Linked DNA regions of Homo sapiens: regions 2, 3, 4 and 5 are each linked to region 1. The links are contacts of gene promoters, found by promoter capture Hi-C in blood cells and fetal thymus (Javierre and others, 2016). All regions are on one chromosome and are shown on one strand. The core of a region is centred on a gene start or on the middle of the fragment in contact, and the rest is flanking DNA. Distances in the headings are between cores, read along the strand shown. Region 1 holds the start of AKIP1 (A-kinase interacting protein 1). Region 2 overlaps DENND5A (DENN domain containing 5A). Region 3 overlaps TRIM66 (tripartite motif containing 66). Region 4 overlaps DENND2B (DENN domain containing 2B). Region 5 holds the start of LOC107984308 (a long non-coding RNA gene).

Region 1 (4,992 bases), core at 1,513-4,012:
AAAATGAAGAACAGCAATTTGCTAAACCTCAAACCAAAGACAAATATTATTCCTTTTGCTGAACCATGAACCAAGGGTTTAATCACTTTACAGTAGAGTTGAGGCTATTGATTTTTGTAAAACCACTGAACAACACAAATAAGATAAAAATATTCCCTGAAGTATTCCTCTTTGGTTGGAATCCTATTCTTGGAGTCAGGGATTCTTATAAAAGATGTAGAAAGATTAGAGTTTTTTGAGATCTTAACATATGAAACTGAAAAGCAGGGCAGAAACAAGGTATTCTCTTCCATCTCCTTTGTGGATCAGCCTCCTTAAAACCATGTAGGACTCACCAAGTGTTAAGACTGCATGAGGCCAGAGCCTGCTGTAATTCCTAGAAGACAGTGCCTTCCATGCAGGTAATTTCCTTGAATGTTTTCTGGCCTGCCCTCAACATTCCCTAAGTATCGAAAGATGACTTGGCTGGGTATGGTGGCTCAAGCCTGTAATCCCAGCACTTTGGGAGGCCAAGATGCGCGGATCCCTCGAGGTCAGGCGTTCCAGAGCAGCCTGGCCAACATGGTGAAGCCCTGTCTCTACTAAAAATACAAAAATTAGCCAGGCATGGTGGCATGTGCCTGTAGTCCCAGCTACTCGGGAGGCTGAGGCAGGAGAATCGCTTGAACCAGGAGGCCAGGAGGTAGGGGTTGCAGTGAGCCGAGACTGAGCCACTGCACACCAGCCTGGGTGATGGAGTGAGACTCTGTCTCAATTAAAAAAAAAAAAAAAAGGTCGGGCACGGTGGCTCACACCTGTAATCCCAGCACTTTGGGAGGCTGAGGCGGGCGGATCACGAGGTCAGGAGATGGAGACCATCCTGGGTAACACAGTGAAACCCCGTCTCTACTAAAAATACAAAAAAAAAAATTAGCTGGGCGTGGTGGTGGGCGCCTGTAGTCCCAGCTACTAGGGAGGCTGAGGCAGGAGAATGGTGTGAACCCAGGAGGGAGAGCTTGCAGTGAGCCGAGATCACACCACTGCACTCCAGCCTGTGCCACAGAGCAAGCCTCTGTCTCAAAAAAAAAAAAAAAAAAAAAGTTAAAAAAAACCCCTAATATTTAACTTATTTGCTATGAAATTCGGCAAATAAGCTATTTTCCCCCCACTAGACTGAAAGATCACTGAGGGCAGAAGACCTTTTCTGACTTTTCATTGCTATATTGTCAGCTACAGGGTTAGGCATTCAATAAACATTTATTGGGTGAATTCTAACTTGGATTTACCCCCTGGTTTAAGTCCTTGACTGATTACAATCTGACCGTGAAGGCTGGGCAGGAGAAACAGGTAGTGTCCAGATTCTCCGTAAATTCCAGAAAGATCCAAATGTGGTCCATCAGCAGGTGATGGGGCATAGTTTTGGTTCACACCAACTTACCCCACACTGACTTGAAGTATAGTCCATGAATTCAGCCATTGTTCTGAAGGAAGCACTAAGGGTTGGGGGTCTCTCTTCTCTCTATTTGAATAAATGGCACGTCACAGGTTAGCTCTAGGATTCCCTACTGGAGAATGAAGCCATTTTGGAAATAGTCTCCTTTTTACTTTTGGAAAGGCTCTGCAAGTTTATGTCAGAAAGAACGATGTTATTGAGAAAGAATTCCAACTCTAAAAGATAGACATGCAATTTATCCAGGATCTAAGAGACAGGCTTGCAGGCTTTCCTCTACTATCAGATGATAGCTGTAAGATTTTTTTTTTTTTTTTTTTTTTGAGACGGAGGTTTCGCTCTTGTTGCCCAGGCTGGAGTGCAATGGCGCGATCTCGGCTCACCGCGACCTCCGCCTCCCGGGTTCAAGCGATTCTCCTGCCTCAGCCTCCCTAGTACCTGGGATTACAGACATGCGCCACCACGCCCGGCTAATTTTGTATTTTTAGTAGAGACGGGATTTCTCCATGTTGGTCAGGCTGCTTTCGAACTCCCGACCTCAGGTGATCCGCCCGCCTCGGCCTCCCAAAGTGCTGGGATTGCAGGCATGAGCCACCGCGCCCGGCTAATTTTTTTTTTTTTTTTTAAGTAACCAACCAGGGCTGAACACTACCGTTATTCTACAGCTACCCAACAAGAATCTGTCAAATGTAAAGCGTTTTGAAAGGACTTTTCCATTCATTGTTCTGATCCTTTCCAGCTTCCGCTAAGGGAAGGTTTCCTCAGCTGCTTCTGCGCTGCGCACCCCTGGCTCCCAGCGGGCTACCGCGGCGCGAAGGACTGGGGCGGCCCCCGGCACAGCGACCCTCACCTCTCCCGGGAGAACGCGCTGCGGGCCGGCTGCCGGCTGTTTCTCTAGGTGGGGCGCCTCCCGGGCAAGGACCCCCATGCAGCCTTTGGGACGCTCCAGGGCATGCCAGTCCACCGCCCTCCTCTTGGCCCTCTCCAGCACTTCTAGAGCCAGCCTTGCTGAACGCTGCAGGGAACGTCGGTCCACCCCATTCAGCGCTGCGGCCGCCAAACAGTTGTCCATGGCTCCCTGAGTGGGCACACAACGTACAAACGCCGGCGGGTCAGCTGGGCCGCGGCGACCCTGCTCCAAATCCGGGTGGGAGCCCCAGCCTCGACCTCCCTGGAGACCACCGCTCCTGGTCCGCCCCCAACGCACACTCCAGCGGGAGCCCAGCCAGGACTAGGCCTAGCGCGCCCGCCCCTTCCATTTTCATCTACCCCTTCCGCTACTTAGGGAGCCCCCTCACCCGGCTCACTCGTCAAGGCGCATGCGCGCAACGCTATTCTAGGAAGAGGGACCAGGCCTAGCGCTCCCGGCGGCGCCGGCGCAGCTGGGCCATTGGCGGAAGGCGGGAGAGGCGGGAGAGGCGGGAGAAGTGGGGGAGGCGGGGCGGCTGGGCGGCCAAACACGCCTTCTGCGTCCCAGCCTTGGCGTCTGCGCGCGAGTTGCCTGGTTAACTGCTGAGCGCTGGAGGCGGGGCGCCGGGCGCTGGGGGCCGGGGGTCGGGGGTCGGGGGCCGGGGGTCGGGGGTCGGGGGCTGGGGGCTGAGGACTGAGTCGAGCCAGCAGCCCAGGGCATCTGTCCACGCTGTCAGAGGAGCCTCTGGGCGTGGGGCTGGCCCTTAGAGGGCTACTGCGCTGCTTAACTTGGTGGGTATAAAGGCAGGTCTCCTGTTGAGCTAAAAAATTATGGGGTACCAGCTAGGTAGGCAACATAGCGAGAACCCGTGTAGACACACACACACACACACACACACACACTAGCCAGGAGTGGTTATGGGGTACCAGCTAGGTAGGCAACATAGCGACAACCCGTGTCCACACACACACACACACACTAGCCAGGAGTGGTTATGGGGTACCAGCTAGGTAGGCAACATAGCGACAACCCGTGTCCACACACACACACAGTAGGAGGAGTGGTGGCGCGCATCTGTAGTCCCAGGTACTCGGGAGGGTCGAGGTGGGAGGATCGCTTGAACCCGGGAAGCGGAGGTTGCAGTGAGACGAGATCGCGCCACTGCACTCCAGCCTGGGCGACAGAGGAAGACTTCGTCTCAAAACAAAAACATCATGGGGAATAAGGCAAGTGCCTCCCGCGCCTCTTTCTGCTTGGTCTACATTTTGGGGTGTCGCTACTCTTGTTTGAGGAGGTGATTAGGCCAAACTGTGTGGCTGCCAAGGTGGCCTTTGGAGAAGGGAACAGCTCGGGATTGAGGCGAGACGGAGGCGGGGCTGTCTGCAGATGTTCCTGGCCCCCGGGGCAGGGGGCGCCTGAGAAGTTGTAGGGTCTCTCATAATCCCTCAGCGCAGCTCTCTCTCCCCTCCAGTGGGAAGTACGGATTCACATATTTTTGGAGACCTGTTCTCTTGGGGTCTGACTCCATCTTTTAGGAAGACTGCACCATGTTTAAGTAAGGAACTGTGAATGCTTACTTAAACCATGTTTAAGTAAGGACCTGTCACTCCACTCCGCTGGTTATTTGGTAGGAGATACAGCCCAGGCTCTCACTGCTAATTAGTGACTCAGCCGCACCACCCAGCGCAAAGCAAAGCGCCGATGCTTAGGAAGGTCCACTTTGAGGGACACGCTCAGTGGGGGTCACTTTAAGGAACACAAATAAATCCTCCTTTAAGTCTCCTCTGTGGTTCATGAAAAAGGAGAGAAACTCCATCCTCACCTAGTCTCAACAGATGGCTTGATGAGCAATTATCAGGTACCAGGTGAGTAGTAGCCGACCAATACGACCTCCTTCTATGCTACTTAACTTTTGCAAATTTCCTGCTTTCCCCTTATAAAAAAGAATAACAGTGAGTGAAACCCTACATTATTCTTGAGATGATTTTTTTTTCATTTTATTGGTATTCCAAAACATTTCCTTCAATAAGGGTTTATCAAGTGCCTCCTTTAGAACATAGTGGTTGTACGTGCATGGGGTCCTGTATATCCACTCGGGAGAGCTGGTTTGAATTCTGGCTCTGCCATCTTTTTTTTTCCATTTCTTCTCCTTCTCCTTCTCCTTCTCCTTCTTCCTCCTCCTCCTCCTTCCTCTTCCTCTTCTTCCTCTTCTTCCTTCTTCCTTCTTCTTCTTTTTTGTTTAATAAAGAAACGAGGGTATCACCCTGTCAGCCAGGCTGAAGTGCAGTGGCACGATCTCGGCTCACTGCAGCCTCGACCTCCTGGGCTCAAGCGATCCTCTTCTTCAGCCACCACGCCCTGCAAATTTTTTAAATGTTTCGTAGAGACAGGGTCTCCCTATGTTGCCCAGGCTCTCTGCCACTTTTTTGCTCTGTGGTTCTGGGCAAACATATTACTTCTTTGAGCCTCACTTTTCCTCATCTCTATATCTGGGGATTCCAATAGTACTAACTTCTTTAGACTGAGCTTCTTGAGGGAAGGGACTGTATCTGTAGTGTTTAGAGTTTAAGGTGCATCTAGTATTTACTATTTTGTCTGTCACAGTAAGGACTAAAAATAGCCCTTGAATGTGTGAATTGGGTTGCCATTAGGA
Region 2 (4,992 bases), core at 1,022-3,521, 240 kb before region 1:
TCTTTGAAGTTGTTGGGTTTTAAGTTTATGAATTTTGTAGGAAGTACAAACATACAGCAAGCTTATTTTGACAGCTTGCTGATCTATAGCGAGGGTTTCCTACCATTCAGATGTTTGTTTTTTTTTTTCCCCAGAGTAGATCAAGTTTGTGAATAGAAACAAAATAGACCCTCAGTATTCTCATGGGGTATATCTTAAGACCTTAAATCTTCACATTAATTCCATAGCACAAAATTTTCCTCAGAAAGTATAACTTAAAAAGTTAAATGATCTTTTCAGAAGCATCTCGTGTAGCATAGTTATTAAGAGCAATGGTTTTGACATTAGATAGACTTAAGCTTGAATCCCAACACTCTGCTTACTAACGGTGTGACCTCTTACAAGTTAACTTAACCTTTCCGATCCTCAATTTCTTCTTCTCTACAGAAAATAGGGATAGAGATATCTACCTTATTAGACTGTTGGGAGCATTAATTAAAATATTGTATTTTGAACATCTGACATAGTGCTTAGTTCATAGTAAGCCTCAAGACCTGGTAGCTTCTATCATTATTATAGAACCAAAGTCATTTATAAAATTATTGTAATCTTACTAAAACAAACATACCACCTTTATATTATTTTATTATCTGCATGGGAACATTTACCATGAATCTGAAATAAAGTTATCACTTAACAAGGGTTATGATGTACTGAACGATGATTAGAAAGAGACAAAGCAGTTGCTGGGTGACCAGCTGGGCTCACTCATTACCCAGGTGAATTACTCCCTCACATCAGGCTTGCAAATACTATTCAGGTTTGTGCCTTGGCAAAATGACAAATTGCTACATATCTCAAATGGTTTAAAGTGCAGTTCTTACCTTTCCAAACGCCAAGGTTCTATTATATTGACTGTAGTTTATTTCAGCCATGCAGTTAAGTACCAGCCTACCTTTCTGCACATTTCTTCAACTATACCTTCAATAGTAAATCCTTGTTATAGTGATGACTTACTCTCCCTGGCCTGCACTAACAACTTATAAGGTAGCCAAAGATACCACAGTTTCCCCCACTTAACAGAGAAGGAAACTGACATTCAGAGAAGTTCACCAAACTGCTTTGCCTAGTTCACCAAGTAGCAAAATCAGGACTAGAACAATATTTAAAGGAATAACTTTAAATATTTTAGGAAATTCAGGAGCTAAGATGGAAGCTTATAGGCTGGATATCCACTCCTCTGTGCAAAAGCCATCAAGCTGACATAAAACCAGCAGACCATTTAGAGGATGATAGGTCATTTGCTTCTTTTTTTTTTTTTTTTTTTTTTTTTTGAGAGGGAGCCTCATTCTGTCACCCAGGCTGGAGTGCAGCGGCATGATCCTGGCTCACTGCAACCTCTGCCCCCCAGGTTCAACTCCCTCCACCTCCCAGGTTCGGTTCGAGTGATCCTCTTGCCTCAGCCTCCCGAGTAGCTGGGACAGCAGGCGTGTGCCACCACTCCCGGCTAATTTTTGTATTTTTAGTAAGGGTTTTGCTGTGTTGGCTAGGCTGGTCCCGAACTTCTGACCTCAAGTGATCCGCCCGCCTTGGCCTCCCAGTGTTGGGGTTGGGATTACAGGTGTGAGACACTGTGCCTGGCCTGCTTTTTTCTTTCTTTCTTTTTTGTTTTTTTTTTTTTGAGACGGCGTCTCACCCTGTCGCCCAGGCTGGAGTGCAATGGTGCGATCTAGGCTCACTGCAACCTCTGCCTCCCGGGTTCAAGTGATTCTCCTGCCTCCTGAGTAGCTGGGATTATAGCCATGCACCACCACATCCTGCTAATTTGTGTATTTTTAGTAGAGACAGGGTTTCACCATGTTGGCCAGGCTGGAATCGAACTCCTGACCTCAAGTGATCTGCCCGCCTCGGCTTCCTGAAGTGTTGGGATTACAGGTGTGAGCCACCGTGCCCAGCTGCTTTTTTCTTTCTTATCCACTGGTCCCTTACCAGGCTCTCTTTCCCATCTCCTTTCTATTCCCAGTAGGGGACCCTTTCCTTTTTCTGTTACCTTCCATTGTTTATATTTCTTCTGGATTTTAGTAAATTGATATATTTGCATACACTGTGTCCTGGATGTACATTGAAACAAGAAACAGTACATATATTTTTTTAGCAAAAGCTTCTATCTGTATGTTGAAAGCCTTGACCCCTGAAATCTAAACTGATAGGTGTTTCTCCCTTGCATTGGTTCCAGGGGAAATCAGCCTTATGGTCCCACCTGTTACATTATCAGGACAACCGGCAGAGAAAACTCACATCAGGAAGCCTCAGTACCTCAGGTAAGATAGTCTCTGCAATGGAGAGTCTGCCCTCTCTCCACTTTTCCATCACCCACTGGCGTGATCACTTTGAAGCAAACTATTCCAGGTCGAAGAAGCTTTTGCTCTGGAATGTTTTCTCTTTTAAATATGGAGCCACCAGACTCTCTGAACCACAGAGCATACCAAAACCATGGCATTTGCTTTCATTATGTATTTCTATACCCTTTTTATCGGCAAGATAGAAAATTTATTTGGGCAAGAGGCCAGTCTCAGAATGAATATGGGTTTTACTGTGGTACTGGTGTCCTGGGTTTGGAGCAGGCTGTTTTCAGAGTCTTTTGTTTTATTTCTCTGACATGGGCATTATGATTATCTATCCCGTTAGTCAAGAGAGCTGTTGGTCAGTGTCCTTCCTTGGACCTCCTCAAAGTCAAGTCCTGGTGTGAATGATCCCTTATACTTCCTTTCTGTTTCTAACCTAATAAAAATGTCAGAGTTTGTGGCAACTCCAGAGGTCATCTAGTCCAGGCCCTTTATTTTACAAGAGGAGGAAACGAGTCTGGAGAGGAATTGAATTTACTTAAGATCACAAAGTGAGCTCATGGAAGAGGCCAAACAAGAGCCAGTCATCTTATCTCCTGCTCTGATGTTTAGACCATCCTACAGTGTCCTTTCCAGGCTAGTCTCCCTGCTTCTTTTACTTCTTGGGTGCATCTCCCCTTCACATCATCCTTTGTTCTCCACTCTGCCAGACATTTGTTTACCTTTCTTGGATGTTTTTATCTTAATGGTAAAGGTGAGTTAAATGGGGTAAAAAGATGGGCATGAACTCGTTGCCCTTGAACTAGTTGACCTTAACTAGCACTGAACCTGGGGAGATAATTGGCTGAAAACTAGAGACAAGAGTTCTCCAGGTAGGCTTATGAGGAATTTTTTTGGCCCGCTTTCTGGATGTGTAAAAGCAGGTTCTTATTAAGAATGCTATAGAAGTCATTGCTGAGGAATAAACTGTAGCCAAAAATTCTCAACAGCTTGATGATGAAAATACTAAGTTTTAAACATTAGGCCAGACATGAGGATATAAAGGTATTATATCTTCTCTTCTCCTAGAGGTCCTATCATTCTGGAACAGAACCAGAACATTCTTGTTCTTTATATATTCTCTTGGGCTTTTGTAGGCTGCTGTGAAGCCAGAACAGGATGTGAGTAGTGGCTCCAAGTGGAAGCACTGCTTCTGTGGATCATGGTGAGAGCATGATAGACTAGGAGCCAGGAGGTCTGTGTTCCAGTACTGACTTTGCTGCTTGGTGACATAGGCAAAGCAGCTAACCTCTCTGAATGTCATTTTCCTTCTCTGTTAAGTGGGGGAAATTGTGATATCTTTTTTGGCTACCTTATAAATTGTTAGAGAATTAAATGAGATAATATCCATAAAAATGTAAAATTCGGTCTCTAGTAGGAATTTCATAAATATTTATGAAACAATCAATTAAAGTGTTACCAGTGTAACCACCTGTTTCCCATAGCAATTTGTGATTTAAGGTAAGGGAAGGGCAGTCAGCTATTTGGATATTCAGATCTCTTTGGACATGACCAACTTGTTTATTCTAGGAATACTTCTTGATTCAGAACGTAGGAAGTCTGATGCCAGCTCACTCATGCCTCCCCTGAGGATCTCCCTGATTCAGGATATGAGGTCAGTATGGGCTCACATGTAATAAGCCACTAAAATCCTGTTTTCAGTTGCTGCTTAGGTGTCCACTTTTAGTAACAAGGTCTCAGTGGCTGCTACAGCATCTCAGCTAACATGGAAGCCCTCCTAATCACAAAGCCTTGTGTTTCATAATACATTTGTAAAGCTGTACAAACCGTTGGGTTTCCTGGCATTTTTGGAGGTGAGGGAGCATAGGAGAGTATCTCAGGCCCTAAGGGCTCAGAGTTAGCCTGGCTTTTTAAGGGCTGTACTGTCTTTTTTCCTCCCAAAATATGGTGAGCCTATCTGGTAAAGCTACATGGAAGCCCAGTATTTGGAGAATATAGAGATAGGCTCTCCCAGGGTGAGATAAGTCTGTCTCAGCAGGTCTCCTTTGGCTTTACAGGTAAGTTATTGGCAGTGAGTTCATCTCCCATCCCACCCTCCACTTCCTTTTTACATTCTTCCTCCAGGCACATCCAGAACATCGGGGAAATCAAGACTGATGTGGGAAAGGCCAGAGCATGGGTGCGACTGTCCATGGAAAAAAAGTTACTTTCCAGACACCTGAAGCAGCTCCTCTCAGACCATGAGCTCACCAAGTAAGGCTGCTCCGCCAGGAGTAGAAGCAGGCTCCCAGGAATGGAGGGAAGAGATTGGAAACTTGTGTGGGAAGGGGGAGTATTCAGTGTGACATTGCTGCTGCATTCAGCTAACCTCTTTGCTTATGAAGGTTTTGCAGTATTTCCTCTTCTCCCTTTTTATCAGTAGAAGAATACTTCCGCTATATTGGTTCTCCCTGTCTTCTCAACCTGCATGCCCAAAACTAGCTTTCTTGGAGAGGTAGTGGGAAGGATGAGGTCTTCCTCTCCTTCCTGTATTCAGGTGACATGTATACCTCTTGGACATAAGGCGTTTCCTTTGTCTCTTTCCTGTTCTGGGGAGCAAAGGATTGGAGAATTAAAAGGAAACTTCTGAGATGTCCTCTTCTCTCTCTTGTTCAACACATCATACCCC
Region 3 (4,496 bases), core at 1,263-3,762, 240 kb after region 1:
TTTAAAGATAAGGTCTTGTATGTTGCCCAGGCTGGTCTCAAACTGCTAGCCTCAAGCAGCCCTCCTACCTCGCCCTCCCAAAGCACTGGGATTACAGGCATGACCATCACGCCCAGCCTCCTAGTTCTGTTTTTACTCACTGAATTATATTGAACAAATAGCATGTTCTCTTTGAATCTGTTTTCTTGTCTGTATAATGAAAAAATAATGAGATTCATTCATTCGTTTTATAAATATTAATTGAGTGTGTACTATGTTCCTATGCTAGGTGCCAGGCAAGTGAGGGGCAGGTACAATTGTGAACAAAAGTCCTTCCCTAAGACTATGTCTAAGACATACATTAAACAAGCAAACAAATAATATATCACATATAACACAGCCTAGCAAAGAGTAGGTACTCTCATTACCTACTATTTCTCGCTCACATTTTCTCCCTAAAATGAGTGTTATTTTTATGATAATTTGTTCTGTACCCTTCATGCAAACAATCTTTGAAATTCTTATTCCCAATGTGATGTGGAATGACTTGTTCCATCATTCCTTAGCAAGGTTAAGGTACTCCAGTAAATATTTTCCTTTTCTTAGATATAGATGTGGTAAGATGTTAAAAGGAGGTGGTTTGTGGCAAGGCAATGTTTTAAAATTTAACTTTTTGTTAACATTTTAAAATGTAAATAAAAATAATTTCCTGGGTTTTGGAAAACTAAGATTTGGAGACATTAGACCCACATTCTTTTAAGTAAAGCACTTCGTTCATATAGATTGCCCAGCCCCTGTAGGCATTTGAATTTACTACCTTGGCTTAAGTACAGTCTTGCAAACTCTGTCCCCTACACTCTTCTAGGTCAGGGGAGATAAGAAGGAGAGGGAAGAACTAAGTTATGATGAAAGCAGCCATAAGAAGGGGGCAGAAATGGGGTCATTTGACCCTTCGTCTTCTCAAATCAGAAACTCATTGTGTGGCTGTGCCTTTAAATTAACCATTTACTTTCATGGAGTTACTTCAATTGCTCTTCTAAGACATAAATGAGATGCCTGTTTCTTTATATTCTTACCCTGTGTAGTACTTGCTGGTGGTGGAAAGCCATGCTACCTCCCTGAATTCCCAGGATTGTGATGCAAGGTCTAATGCAGTAGTTCTCCAAGTGTGGTCTGTAGACCTTATGGGGTGGGGGGTCCCTGAGACCGTTTCAGGGAGTTCACAGGTCAAACAATTTTAATAATAAAGCTAACGTGTTATTTGATCTTTTCACTGGGTTGACATTTGCACTGATGGTGCCAAAGCAATGTTATGTAAAACTGCTGATGTTTTGGGCACCAAACTGGAACAAAACCTTATATTCTTTACCACTAAGCATCTGCCGGTTAAAAAAAAAAAAAAGAAGTTTACCTTAAGAATGTCCATCCATGATGAAGTGGTAACAATTTTTATTAAATCTCAATCCTGAAATTCTTAAGTACTTTTTTAGATTTCTTTTTGATGTTCTGTGTGAAGAAAAAGTATTCCTACTACATATCAAAGTGAGAAACTGTGCTTGTGCTATTGAGTTGCAAGTTAAACTAGCCTTTTAAAAAATGAAACATAATGGACGATGTGGTGGCTCACGCCTGTAATCTTTGGGAAGCTGAGGCGGGTGGATCACGAGGTCTGGAGATTGAGACCATCCTGGCCAACATGGTGAAACCCCGTCTCTACTAAAAATACAAAAATTAGCTGGGCGTAGTGGTGCATGCCTGTAATCCCAGCTACTTGAGAGGCTGAGGCAGGAGAATCGCTTGAACCAGGGAGTCGGAGGTTGCAGTGAATCAAGATCACGCCACTGCACTCCAGCCTGACGACAGAGCGAGACTCTCTCAAAAATTAATAAATAAATAAATAATAATTAAAAAAATAAAAAGTGAAACATCAGTATTACACGAAAGGACAACTGGCAGGCCGGGTGCGATGGCTCATGCCTGTAATCCCAGCACTTTGGGAGGCCAAGGCAGGTGGATCATCTGAGGTCGGGAGTTTGAGATCACCCTAACCAACATGGAGAAACCCTGTCTCTACTAAAAATACAAAATTAGCTGGGTGTGGTGGTGCATGCTTGTAATCCCAGCTGCTCGGGAGGCTGAGGCAGGAGAATCACTTGAACCTGGGAGGTGGAGGTTTCTATGAGCCAAGATCACGCCATTGTACTCCAGCCTGGTTAACAAGGGCAAAACTGCATCTAAAAAAAGAATAACTGGCAGACAAACTGTGGTTATTCAGGCTTGGGAATTTGTCCGATATTTTCTCAAAAGTGAATTGACAGTATTTGTTGCCAATGATAAAATTCAAGCGTTCAAGCAAAAGTTAGAATTCTGGTAGTTTTTGCTGCCTCCATGAATTTGGCAGCTTCTCAATGCTTAAAAGAATTTTCTGATGAGATTCGAGGTGATTCTAAAGAATGTGATTTTTTGTTATTGTGTAATGAAATGTGTCGATATTTGGAACATCTGCATAAGTCATTGAACTGGTATTTTCCAAATGACCAATGCTTGGTGTTAAAAAACTGTGCCTGGGGAAAAGACTAGTTCAAAGAGCAAGATCAGCAGATTTTAATATAACAGAATAAGAAAAGTTTGGTTCAGAGTCTACCTTATAAATAACATTTAAGAAACTACTACCACTGTTGAATTTTGGTGTGGTATCAAAGAATATCCACAATTACCTGATAAGGCTATTAAAGTACTCCTATCTTTTCCAGCTGTATGTCTGTGTGAGACTGGATTTTCCTCATATACTGTGAACAAAACAACATATAACAGATTGACTGCAGAAACAGGTATGGGAGTCCAGCCGTCTTTTATTAAGCCAGATGTTAAAGGGTTTGGCACATATGAGAAACAATGTGACTCTTCTCATTAAATTAATTTTTTTGAAAGTAGTTGATTTTTTTTTTTTAGGCTGGGTGCAGTGGCTCACGCCTATAATCCCAGCACTTCGGGCGGCCAAAATGGAGGATCGCTTGAGTCCAGGAATTTGAGACCAGCTTGGGCTACATAGCAAGACCTGGTCTCTACAAAAATAAAAATGAAAATAAAATAGTCGGGTGTGGTGGCACATGCCTATAGTGCTAGCTGCCTAGGAGGCTGAAGCAAGAAGTTTGGTTGAGCTCAGAAGTTTGAGGCTGCAGTGAACTTCGCACGACTGCCCTCCAGCCTAGGCAACAGAGCAAGACCCTGTCTCAAAAAATAAATAAATAAATAAATGGAAAAAAGGAAATAGTTATTTTTTCCAAAAAGTATGTTATTCGTGTTAACATATAACAAGTTTATTATTTTATGAAAATTAATGTTTTAAAATTTTCTCAGCTTTAACTTCTAATGTGGTAAATAGCAATAGATTTTCTCAGCTTTAACTTCTAGTGTGGTAAATAGCAATAGTTCACATAAATGAACTCTCTTTGGGGTCTTCAATGAGTAAACATATGTAAAGGGATTCCCAAGACCAAAAAGTTTGAGAACTACTGGCCCAGTGAAATAAACTCAGGCATGCTTGAACCTTCTAATAGAGACTGTCCTCGTCTCTAATCATGCTGCTGCTATGGCTGTTTTCTGCTAAATAATGCCCAGAAGGAATTAGAAGTGCAGGTCTATCTATAGCTTTATGTAGTGGCATCTTTCTGGACCCCAGGCAGCCTGGCCTCTCCCAGCCCCATCACCCTTCCTCCTTCCTGAAGGCTTGGCTCCTAAAGACTTCAGACTGGAGTGAAATTTTTCTCAAACTTGCATAATTACCAAGACCCAGATTTGAATTAAATGATTTGTATTTTGTTTCTTAAATAAGTACAAATATAAAACTAGCTACAACTTCCTTTGGCTTTTAGCTGTTATACAACTATAAAACTGAATATAGTTTACAAATTGTAAAAAACTACAAAGCCATCAAATTAATAATATTAATTTCACATGTATGTGATGTTTTTCTAAACTAAACTATCATTATGACTTAAATGTGGTGCTCACTCTTGTAGCTAAGTTCAGCAAACATATGCCACAATGATGATGGCTCAGTTTTCCCACTTCCTTTCTCTGTTCCAAGTACTGTAAAACATGCATCATTTTGTGCCACAATGTTGTTTAGACTTCAAGTGGCAAGAATACATTATTTGTGTATTAAGTCTGCCCCTCTCTCAGCTCATTAACCTGAGACAAGTAATACTGCCTAGTGTGTACTAAATCCTAGACTCTTAACACTACCCCCAAAATCATATTGTGGTAGATATGTAGATAATCCAGACTATACTTTTTAAAACTTTATTATCACAATGAAACACTAATTTTAAAAAATTAGTGGACAGAACTCATGAAAATATGTGTGTGGACCTCAGCTTAAGAACATTTCACTAATTAAGAGTGTGGGCCGGGCTCGGTGGCTCATGCCTGTAATCCCAGCACTTTGGGAGGCCGAGGCGGGTGGATCATGAGGTCAGGAGATCGAGACCACGGTGAAACCCCGTCTCTACTAA
Region 4 (4,992 bases), core at 47-2,546, 210 kb after region 1:
AGACTAGGTGGAAAGGTAGCACCCCTGTGTGGGTGAGGGAGCAGGGTTTGGGAGCACACAGATGGCAGGATTGAGAACCCTGTGGAGGGCTTGGCCTGAGGGGAGAGGGAGGGATATTTCTTCCTTTGCAACAGCCAAGACTGTGCAGGTGCCGGGATATGTAAAGGGGAAAGGTTAAGAAATTGAGATTTTTGGTGGATGGTTGCATTTCTTCTGGAGGGGGAGGCAAAGCCATCTCAATGGGATGCTGAGTTTGAGGAAAGAGCTGCTGTGAGGAAGGGGCAAGAGCACTGACCGGGGACAGTGTGAGGAATGCTGAGCCAGCCAGCGAGGGTCCTGTGGAGGGTGTCCCCTGGAGAAGGCAACTGCAGTGGCCCAGGGCTGGGCAATGGGAGGGCTGGGGAGAAGGATGTGATGGGGGCACTGAGGTGCAGAGAGGAGAGTGGGTGAGGAAGGCTGGCCAGCCCACACCGGGAAACAGATGATGTGCAGGGCCTGGAGGTGCCAGGGAAGTCGGGGAGCTGGTTTAGGAGGAGTAAGAAAAGAGCTGGATGGGTCACAGGTCTTGGTCTGAAATGCTGGCATTTATGATTTTAGAGGTAGAGGTGTCGAGAAGGTCTGGTGGTGGCCATGGGAGGGGTGGCAGAAGTGATGGTCACTGGACGTGAGGCAGTTTAGGAAGTAAGAAGTCGGAGCTCTTCTAGACAGCCAAGGTTTAAAAAAGAAAAAAGTTTTATGTCAGTGGTGGTTAGGGGGTGACACAGGCAAGGCACAAGTGATACGGCTCCGATGAGTGCAGGAACACTAGGGTTTTTGGTTCTTATGCTGGTTTAGATAAAACGACACCGACACACGTGGAGTGGTTTTAAGGAGCGGAGAGTTTAATAGGCAAGAAGGGAAGGAGAAAGGCAGAAAGAAGAAAGTACAGAGACAGAGGGAGAGAGGCTCCAAAGCCGAGAGAGGGAACCCCAAGTGTTGTGGATACCAGCCAGTTTGATAAGAAGGCTGGAGGAGGCGGTGTTTGATTTGCATAGGGCTTAGGGGATTGGTTTGACCAGGCATGTCATTCATGTAGCCCCTCCCCCCCCCCCCCCCGGAAGCTGGCCTTCCCATCCTAGCCTTTTAATATGCGAATGTAGGGCGCCTGATGTTCTACACACGTGGGAATATGCGGGGCAGCCATGCTGCTAGGCACCTGTAGGGGCAAGGGCAAGAGGACAACGGTGGGAATTGCCATGTTGGGTGGACCCAATTTCTAATGGTCTTCATTTGCATATCAAAGGTTGCCTGCCTGGCTCTAAGAGCCGGGGCTTTCTTTCCAGACAAGAAACATTTTTGAGCTGCTTTAAAGGAAATGAGGTACAGTGGCTCACGCCTGTAATCCCAGCACTTTGGGAGGCCGAGGTGGGCAGATCACAAGGTCAAGAGATCGAGACTCTCCTGGCCAACATGGTGAAACCCTGTATTAGCTGGGCCTGTAGTCCCAGCTACTCAGGAGGCTGAGGCAGGAGAATTGCTTGAATCCAGGAGGTGGAGGTTGCAGTGAGCGGAGATTGTGCCACTGCACTCCAGCCTGGGAGTGACACTCTGTCTCAAAATAAATAAATAAATAAAAATTTAAAAATTTTTTTAAAAAAAGGAAACAAAAACTTTTCCTCTCTCCATAAAATAATTTCTTAGTAAGTCCTACAACAACAGGATGGGTTATTGGCAACATGTTACATATTGTTTTGGTCAAAGAATCCATCCCAAGCAGTGGTTTCTCTAGAGTGGTCATTTGGACATTGATTAAGCCACCTTAAATGTCAGGTGCTCACAGGAGGGCAGTGAAGGAAAATCCCCGTTCTGGTTTGTCCTCCAATAAGTCCTGAATCCCTGGGGTATTTCCTTCCGTATGTATGAGGAAGCAGTTGAGAGGAAACCGAGAAATGAACTCCCGATTGCCTTCAGAGGGACAGGAACGCAGGCCCATCCTCAGCCCAGGAGAAGAAAGGAGGAAGAAAAACCAGAGCTGCTGACTTTTCCATAGAGCACCAGGGTTTAGAAAGGAAAACTGCCCCTCACTTGTTCCCATCACAGCCTCAATGCTTCTGTGTCTCACACTTCTAGGTGTTCTGTGGGCCCATCAGGCCCTTGTGAAGAAATCTAGCCCAACAGCTGGAATGAGCTGGGTACAGCAGTTCCAAGAGGCCCCTCCTGTGTACCAGCCATGGTCATTGTCAGCCAACAAAGCCCCTGACTGCCCAGCTTTGGTGCCCTGGCCTGGCCTGACCTTAGTGGCCCCTAAGAGAGCCTGGACCATGAGGTTTCTTTTCCTGAAGGTTCTACCCTCTAATTCAGGGCTGAGCTTCCTCTTTGCCACCCTGCCCCCCCCCAGGCCAGCTCCCGTGGGGCTGTGAATACAGCTATTGTTTCCTGTGGTTGCAGCTGCCTCTGAGCACATTCCAGGACCATTCTGGGAGGGACGATCCCAAGGTCTTGTTCTTGGCCTGGCCGGGTATTCAAGTTCTGCCAATCTGGGGTCTTGGAAAAGATGTCCTTCCTGTTCTGCCTGGGGTCTGCCTCTGGCTGGAGAGGGGAGGGGTAGGTCCAGCCAGCTCATGATCCGTTGCTGATGTTTTAGGTTTTCCACAAGTTCTTTGTCCCTCTTGCCTAGTTCTGATGTGGGGTGGGAGAGGGTACCCACGATCTGCATTCACTGGCCCTAGGGGTTTACAAAACCTACTGCCTCCTCAGCCACGGGCCCACTGATGTGCCCCCCAAACCCGAGACAGCCCTTTTCCAGATCTTTGTCAGATGACTGTCCTGCGGGTTGCTGCATACCTTCCTGGCTGTTTGCAGGTACATTTCCCTAAGAGAGTAGCATTGTTGTCCTTGAGGCGCTACGCAGTGGGAAAGCGGGGACTTTACCAGTCTGCAGGGTCCCTGAACCCCATTAGCATTTTTGTTGCACTGGGAGGTTTACGATCAAAGGCTGTCCTGAGCCTCCAGCGAGCTCTAAGTTCCTGGGCCTGGGCTCAGGTACTCTGTCTCTCTGTCTGCCCATCAGTACCCTCTCCAGCTGCTCCCACGCGGTGGTGGCCTTGCTCTACCCCTTCTCCTGGCAGCACACCTTCATTCCTGTCCTCCCGGCCTCCATGATTGACATCGTCTGCTGTCCCACCCCCTTCCTGGTTGGCCTGCTCTCCAGCTCCCTCCCCAAACTGAAGGAGCTGCCTGTGGAGGAGGTGGGCCACCGGGGGAACCAGCTGGGGGGAAGGGTGGAGGGGGAAGCAGGTGCTGGGATCTTACTTGTGGCCCCTCGGCCTCTTTACCAGGCTCTTATCCTTTCTCCCTGGGAGGTCTATCCCCGGCTGGAGTACTTCCTGTTAGCTGACCCTGGGAACCTGGGAGGTCTGGAGGCCTGGCAGAGGGCATTGCGGGACTCATGCCCTGAGCCACTCTGCTAATGACTCCTTTTCTCAGGCGCTGATGGTGAATCTGGGATCTGACCGATTCATCCGACAGGTAAGAGGGTGGGTGCTTGCTAGAGTTGGGCTCCTGAGCACCCTGCACCATCACACACACTACTCAACCTTCACAACCTGTTTGTTGAGCTCTCTCTCTGGGTTCAGTACTACTCACAGACTAGTCAAGGGTGGGGAGAAGCTGGTCTTGGAATCCTTGACCTTAGCAGGGTCCGCCTTTCCAGTGACATCATGAGCTTCTAGAAGGCAGTGTGGGAATTTGAAGAACACGGCCTGGGAGTCCACAGACTTGGCCACTGGACTTTGCCCCCTTTGAGCCACATGGTCTTAGGCCTCTAAATTCTTCTGAGCTCTAAAGGAGAGGTGGTGACAACACCTGCCTTGAAATGTTTGCTGGGGGTTACACAAATAACTATAGATTGTTATGTAACGTACAGGTTTGCAATCATTGTTGTCAACTACAAAAAGCCTTTGTTAGTCGTGGAAATCCTCCTGGCTCTCTACAAAGGAGCACAACCCAGTGCTCTCCCCTATGGAAATGTACTTATTGTCTGTTACACACCAATGACGGAGCTGAGGACTCCCTGGGTACCAGGCATAGTGATGTGGACACAGAAACAGAGTATAGAGACGAAACAACAGTCTAACTTCATTCCTGAGACACAGGCTGGCCACAGTCCCCCTGCCCCAAGCCAACTGTGCCTCCTGCCTGGAGCTGAAGATGGAGGAATTGGGGAGACCTAATCAGGAACCCCTGGCTGGTCCTGGTCACAGAGGCCAGTGAATGCCACACTGGCTCTACCCCCTTTTTTTTTTTTTTTTTTTTTTTTTTTTTGGAGACAGGGTCTCACTGTCATCCAGGCTGGAGTGCAGTGGTACAGTCATGACACTGCAGCCTCGACCTGCCTGGGCTCAGGTGATCCTCCCCATGTCAGCCTCCTAAGTAGCTGGGAGTACAGGTGCATGCCACCATACTTGACTAATTGTTTTTTTGTGTGTGTTTTGCAGATAGAGGGACCTGCTAAGTTGCCCAGGCTGGTCTCGAACTCCCTCCTGGGCTCAAGCGATCCTCCCGCTCAGCCTTCCAAAGTGTTGGGATTACTGGCGTGAGCCACTGCGCCTGACCCTCTACCACTTTTAATCTCTGTAATCTTGGGCAAGTTTCTTAACCTTTCTGTGCTTCAGTTCCTCATCTTAAAATGAGGTTGATGATAGTTATGAGGGTTACTGGGAGAGATAAATGAGATTATCTACTCACGCTCTTCTAACAGGTCTTAGCACATAGTAAGTGCTCAGTGTCAGCTATGATTGTCACTGTGCTTTCTTTCTCCTGCAGATGGACGACGAAGACACGTTGTTACCTAGGAAGTTACAGGCAGCTCTGGAGCAGGCTCTGGAGAGGAAGAATGAGCTGATCTCCCAGGACTCTGACAGCGACTCCGACGATGGTGAGAATAGTGCCCGGGCACGGTCAGCTCTGCTCCAGGCTCCCTCTGCTCTGGGTCAGGGCCCCATAGGGCCAGAA
Region 5 (4,992 bases), core at 1,660-4,159, 190 kb after region 1:
TGGCACAAGGGGCTGGGGAGGAGCAGGCCTTCCTGAAATTGAGTTTCCAGAGACAGGACCTATCTTGAGAACCTGATGTTGCTGGCTGTTTTCCCCTGGGTTGTCAGTGATGTGCACCAGGCTTGTACATCTATTACTTCCCTGGGCCTCAGTATCCTATGTCTTTTTCTTGGAGCTTTGGATTTTGTATCAATATTCAAAGCTCTTACTGTAGGGAAAAGAAGGAAGGAAGGAGGGAGTGAGGTGAAGGAGGGAAGGATGGAAAAAAAAGAGGGCTAGTCTTGGGACTCATGTCACACTCAGAAGCCATTGGAAGTTTAGAAAGCTCTATCTAAAGCAGTGGTTCTCAGTTGGGGGACAACTTCACTCTTCCCTCCCTCCATTCCTGCCTCCCTCCCTCTCTCTCCCTCCTTCCCTCTGTCCGTCCCAGAGAGCATCTGGCAGTGTCTGGAGACATTTTTGGCTGTTATAGCTAAGGAGATGCTAATGTCTCCTGGTGGATAGAAGCCAAGGTTGCCACTAAACATCCTAAAAATGGACAGGACAGTCTACCACAACAAGAATTATTCAACCCCAAATGTCAGTGGCTTGGAGAAACCCCTGGGATTGGGACAAGGCTTCCTATAGGTTGGGGATGACAATAAAGGCCCTGGCTGATCATGCAGTCCAAGGCAGTTTCGATTTGTTGAGCTTGGCATAAATGTTCTCCCTGCCGTGATGTGGACAGTGATGCTCTGGTCCTGTTTTAGGGGATCAGAAGACTGTGTCCTGGCATTCTCCCTTCTTAGTTCCCCCACCTCCTCACTCCTGCAGGGCATATGTTGGGGAAGGATCAAGAAGTAGAGAATCCATCCCCAACACCTCCCTAAGTGCCCCACAGTGGGGTAGGCTGGAGAAAACATGCAGGGGGTGCCGGGTTTGCTATTTGGCTTCTTGCGACAGGGCTGCTGGGCCAGCTCCGCTTAGTCAGGGCTCTGGAATGGAGACAAGTCATTTTAATAGCATGACTGTGTTACAGGAAAAGGTCTGTTCCATTGCTGGGGACTCTGCTTGGAGTTGGGAATCACTTAATCCAGTCCCAAATCCCAGTGACCCATCTTTGACTCATAAGTTTACAGAGATTTATATTGCTCCCACTGCAGTCTATTTAGCTGTCACTGAAATCCCTCCTTCACACCCACACCCTAACTCTGTTAGAGCATTTCCTAAATTCGTTGTGGTTCTGCATAAGTAGATGCCACAATGTGGAGGGAGCTCCACTTTGGAAATGGAGGAATCTGCAAGCATATAGGGATTGGCTCTTCTCCCGTGTCCTCTCTAGGAAAGCTTCACTCTCAGCAGCCTTTGTTCCTCGTCCTCCAGCTCCTTCTTCTGCCTGCTTCCTGAGGAGTGGGGTCTGAGTTCCTCTGGGGCGTAAGGCACATTCAGACATCTGTAGAACAAGTGTGGGACTCAGTGGCACCCAGGCTCAATCCTGCTGCTGAGCAGAGGTGCTGGAGTGAGTCCTGCTCTGCAGCAGGAAAATAGGGAAAGGGGTGCAGAGAGGGCTGTGTTCTGAGTTCCCCAGGGACCTGTTCACCCCACGGATTCTGCCACCAGGATTGAGCTAGGACTGACCCGGCCCATGGTGTTACTCTATTTTAGAAAATGTGTGTGTTGGAGGGGTGGGGGCAGGAGATACAGCTTGTGGAAAGGAGTGCCACTCAACATCTTCAAGGGCAGGGATTCTGTTTTGGACTTTTCTGAGATTTTCTGGTAATGCCAATACAATGCCCGCTGCCAGAGATTTTAGAACTAGTCCTGAGAAGCAAGAACTCCCCTCACCCCCACCCTTTGGCCCAGACTCCTTCCAAGCCTTTCACACCTCCCCTGTGTCACAGCAGGAGAGTTTGTTCCAAAAGGGGAGTGTTGATGGTTCTCTTTTTGCTGAGATCAGCGGTAGAGGGAATAGACACTACAGTAGGAGAGTCATCGAACAGATCATTACTGAACACTTCCTCCTTGCTAATCACTGTTCCGTTCCGAGGTTGCCTCAGTGAACAACACAAAACCCTGCCCTAAAAGACTTGTTGAACGGCATCGTAGGTGAGAAGGGGGCCTGGCGAAGCCCTGCTCCCTACGGTTCTGTGAGTTCCTCCATGCCCACCCTCCAAAGTAGGTCCCCAGGGAGATCCCCTGAGAGTTGGGTGAAGGGACAGCCATGTGACCTGAAAACCCTTCCTACCTTGAACTGTGTTATCTCTGGGGTGTTTGCAGCAGAGGGAAGGGAGCCAAGGAAAGACTCTTGTTGCTGGCTTTGTCCTCTGGCTGGGCACAGGCAGGGGTGGCTGAGCCAGTCTTGTGCAATCCCTGAATTTATAAAGCAGAGGCCAGGCTGAGCTGGGCTGGGGGTGGGGGGTTGGGGGGGGTGGGGGGGTGGGTCTGCTTCTGGACTTGGAGCCAGGATCTGTTTGTAGCCTCCCCACTGCAGACGGGCAGCTGCATGACTCATGAGCTGAGGGGCCAGGCAGAAGCCATTCTCTTTGGTTCACAGGAATTCTGCTTGTTTATTTGTGTGTGTGTGAGTTCGTGTGTTTCCTTCTTCCCTTCTCCCCCTTCTCTAACTCTTCCTCCTCTGCAGGAGATCTGCCCAAGGAGAATCCATATGAGGATGTGGACTTAAAGAGCCGAAGAGCAGGACGAAAATCCCAGCAACTGTCTGAGAACTCCTTGGACTCTTTGCACAGGATGTGGAGTCCTCAGGACAGGAAGTACAACAGCCCGCCCACACAGGTAACTCAGCCCTGACATCGGCCTGTAGGGTTAGCGTGAGGGCCACAGTGGGGGCCTGCTCTTCCAAGACTTGGGCCCAGCTTCCACTCAGGCTTTTACCCTCACTAGTACTTGATAAAGGGTCTACGGCCATACCACCCTGAACGTGCCCGATCTCGTCTGATAAAGGAGGTCTCCTCAGCAAAGGACTGTGCACTCAAGGATGTCCACCATGTTGAAACCTCTGTGGACAATTGGCACCTGCTCTGAGGGGCATCCTGTCCTATCTTCTTTCCCTTCCTACACAAGCTCTGAGCTGCAAAACTCAGCCAGGAGCCCTTGCAGTCTCCTCTCTGATTATTTATCACCCTGTGGGAAACAGGAAGACAGGGCCCTAGTGGGAGTCTTGGCATTCTGCAACTCTGCCAGAAGTCATCTCAGTACTGGCATTAGGGGGCTAGGTGTAGGTCCCCAAACCACATTTGGAGAGCCAGACAGGTGTCTGTGACACCTGGAGCCAGTCCTGTGGGAGAGAGTAAGCATGAATCTTTAAGGAATGGATGGGGAGAAGGCAGAATGACAGGAAAGGTGAAAAGCCAAAGGAAGCTCTTGGACTTCAGCTCCTTCTGTCCTTGTCCAGGATGTCAGGAGGCAGGTGGAGAGGCTTCTCTGACCTCCCCAGGTAACTCTAATTCTCTTTGCAAATGGAAGGACCTGGATATTATATAGCATTGGCCAGATAATATAAAATGATAATATAAAAATGATTTCTTCTGCCTTTGGAATAAGGTGTTTGTTTTTATAAAAGATTTACCCCATAGCTGGGAGTGGTGGCTCACGCATGTAATCCTAGCACTTTGGGAGGCCAAGGTGGGCAGATCATCTGAGGTCAGGAGTTCAAGACCAGCCTGGCCAGTGAAACCTCATCTCTACTAAAAATACAAACATTAGCTGGGCATGATGGCGCACGCCTGTAGTCCCAGCTGCTTGGGAGGCTGAGGCAGGATAATTGCTTGAACTCGGAAGACGGAGGTTGCAGTAAGCCAAGATCGCTCCACTGCACTCCTACCTGGGCGACACAGCGAGACTCCGTCTCAAAAAAAAAAAAAAAGATTTACCCTCTAATTAGGACTCTTTTCAAACAGGCTTCCCCTGAGTTTGCATTGCCAGATTGATTGGGTGAGAACAGGAAATTGGGGGCTGTGGAGGAAGGAGGATTTGCTGAGGAGTGAGGAGAGGCAATTCCAGAACCAGACAGTGGTTGGGTGTCTGTGGGATACTTGCCTCCTGACAGGGTCCGCGACAAGGATGGTGCCCTGGGATGAGAGGTCAGCGCATATGGAGAGAGGCAGAGAGTAGATCAGGGCTGGGGAGAGGGCAGCCAGGGCCTTGTGGGTATGGGATCCAATTCAGTGTGAGGCCTGCCTGGCCCAGCTTTGGTGGTCAGAGCCCAGAGCCCCTGTGTTCTCCATGGGAGCAGTTAGGAGGGCCAGGCTGCAGGATCTCCCAGCCCAGCAGGCTGGCCAGTAGGTTATGGCCTCTGCTGTCAGAAACCTTTTAGGATTGGCTCGGGAGCAGAGGTCCGGAAGACTGGTTCCATCACCCAGGCCCAGTAATTCTTGTCCCATAGCTCAGGAGGACCCCCGCAAAATTCCCACTTAGTCTTCTTTTTCCACTCAGATGAGAGCACAGGTGTTTTTAGCCTCTGCTTTCGTTTTTTGCTGGCAGTAGTGAAGCTTCCTTTAGGGAAGGCAAGTATCTAATCTATCCCTGACCTGGCTGATTAGCAGCTAAAGTCTTAAGAGAGGGATGGAAGTTCCAGGGCAAGATGGCGGGGATCCAGGGATGCCGGCCCTTGGCCTCTGTGTCCCCATCCCAGCAGACAGACACTGGCCAAGGCCTCTGTGGCAAGCCCCTCTCGCACGTCCTCTCCCCCACGCCAGCTTTCCCTGAAACCCAACAGCCAGTCCCTGCGCAGTGGGAACTGGTCAGAAAGGAAGAGCCACCGGCTGCCACGATTACCCAAGAGGCACAGCCATGACGACATGCTGCTGCTGGCTCAGCTGAGTCTGCCGTCCTCACCCTCCAGCCTCAATGAAGACAGCCTCAGCACCACCAGCGAGCTGCTGTCCAGCCGCCGGGCCCGCCGCATTCCCAAGGTACCCTCCCCAGAGGCAGCCCACTGGAGCCGGGCAGGTGGGCGGGCAGGCAGCCAGCCTTTCTCTCTCTTTCCTGGCTTCC

What was found. Contacts are between HindIII fragments. The CHiCAGO score rates a contact against its expected background, and 5 or more counts as called.
Region 2: a fragment that was not itself captured here is called in contact with the fragment with the promoter of AKIP1 in region 1 in 1 of 17 cell types (M1 macrophages); the score reaches 5.9 in M1 macrophages.
Region 3: a contact is called between a fragment that was not itself captured here and the fragment with the promoter of AKIP1 in region 1, in 3 of 17 cell types (M2 macrophages, M1 macrophages and M0 macrophages). The highest score is 6.9, in M2 macrophages.
Region 4: a fragment that was not itself captured here is called in contact with the fragment with the promoter of AKIP1 in region 1 in 2 of 17 cell types (M1 macrophages and M0 macrophages); the score reaches 9.9 in M1 macrophages.
Region 5: a contact is called between a fragment that was not itself captured here and the fragment with the promoter of AKIP1 in region 1, in 1 of 17 cell types (M1 macrophages). The highest score is 5.5, in M1 macrophages.

Annotation. Positions count from the first base shown.
Region 1 is chr11:8,908,959-8,913,950 of GRCh38, reverse strand. It overlaps AKIP1 (A-kinase interacting protein 1), which reads right to left and starts at 2,762. Exons shown (of 6, transcript NM_020642.4): 1 at 2,728-2,762; 2 at 2,280-2,507; 3 at 1,418-1,498. The coding sequence starts at 2,501. It also overlaps a transcript of DENND2B not described here. RefSeq lists enhancers at 2,458-2,547, 2,558-2,627 and a silencer at 2,718-2,997. The HindIII fragment of the contact is 8,527 bases long and covers 1-4,992 here.
Region 2 is chr11:9,149,666-9,154,657 of GRCh38, reverse strand. It overlaps DENND5A (DENN domain containing 5A), which reads left to right. Exons shown (of 23, transcript NM_015213.4): 13 at 2,216-2,300; 14 at 3,894-3,978; 15 at 4,449-4,577. Among named protein-coding and RNA genes, the nearest start is that of SCUBE2, 61 kb to the right of the region's middle. The HindIII fragment of the contact is 258 bases long and covers 2,143-2,400 here.
Region 3 is chr11:8,673,120-8,677,615 of GRCh38, reverse strand. It overlaps TRIM66 (tripartite motif containing 66), which reads left to right. Exons shown (of 25, transcript NM_001388022.1): 4 at 2,733-2,810. Among named protein-coding and RNA genes, the nearest start is that of TRIM66, 7.3 kb to the left of the region's middle. The HindIII fragment of the contact is 5,452 bases long and covers 1-4,496 here.
Region 4 is chr11:8,697,448-8,702,439 of GRCh38, reverse strand. DENND2B (DENN domain containing 2B) reads left to right here. Exons shown (of 20, transcript NM_213618.2): 15 at 3,050-3,227; 16 at 3,466-3,507; 17 at 4,804-4,915. Among named protein-coding and RNA genes, the nearest start is that of SNORA3B, 15 kb to the right of the region's middle. RefSeq lists enhancers at 1-322, 2,685-3,470, 3,471-4,258 and a silencer at 3,184-3,478. The HindIII fragment of the contact is 8,144 bases long and covers 1-4,992 here.
Region 5 is chr11:8,715,521-8,720,512 of GRCh38, reverse strand. It overlaps DENND2B (DENN domain containing 2B), which reads left to right. Exons shown (of 20, transcript NM_213618.2): 5 at 2,621-2,772; 6 at 4,695-4,910. LOC107984308 (a long non-coding RNA gene) reads right to left here and starts at 2,329. Exons shown (of 2, transcript XR_001748118.2): 1 at 2,225-2,329; 2 at 981-1,432. The HindIII fragment of the contact is 3,161 bases long and covers 1,329-4,489 here.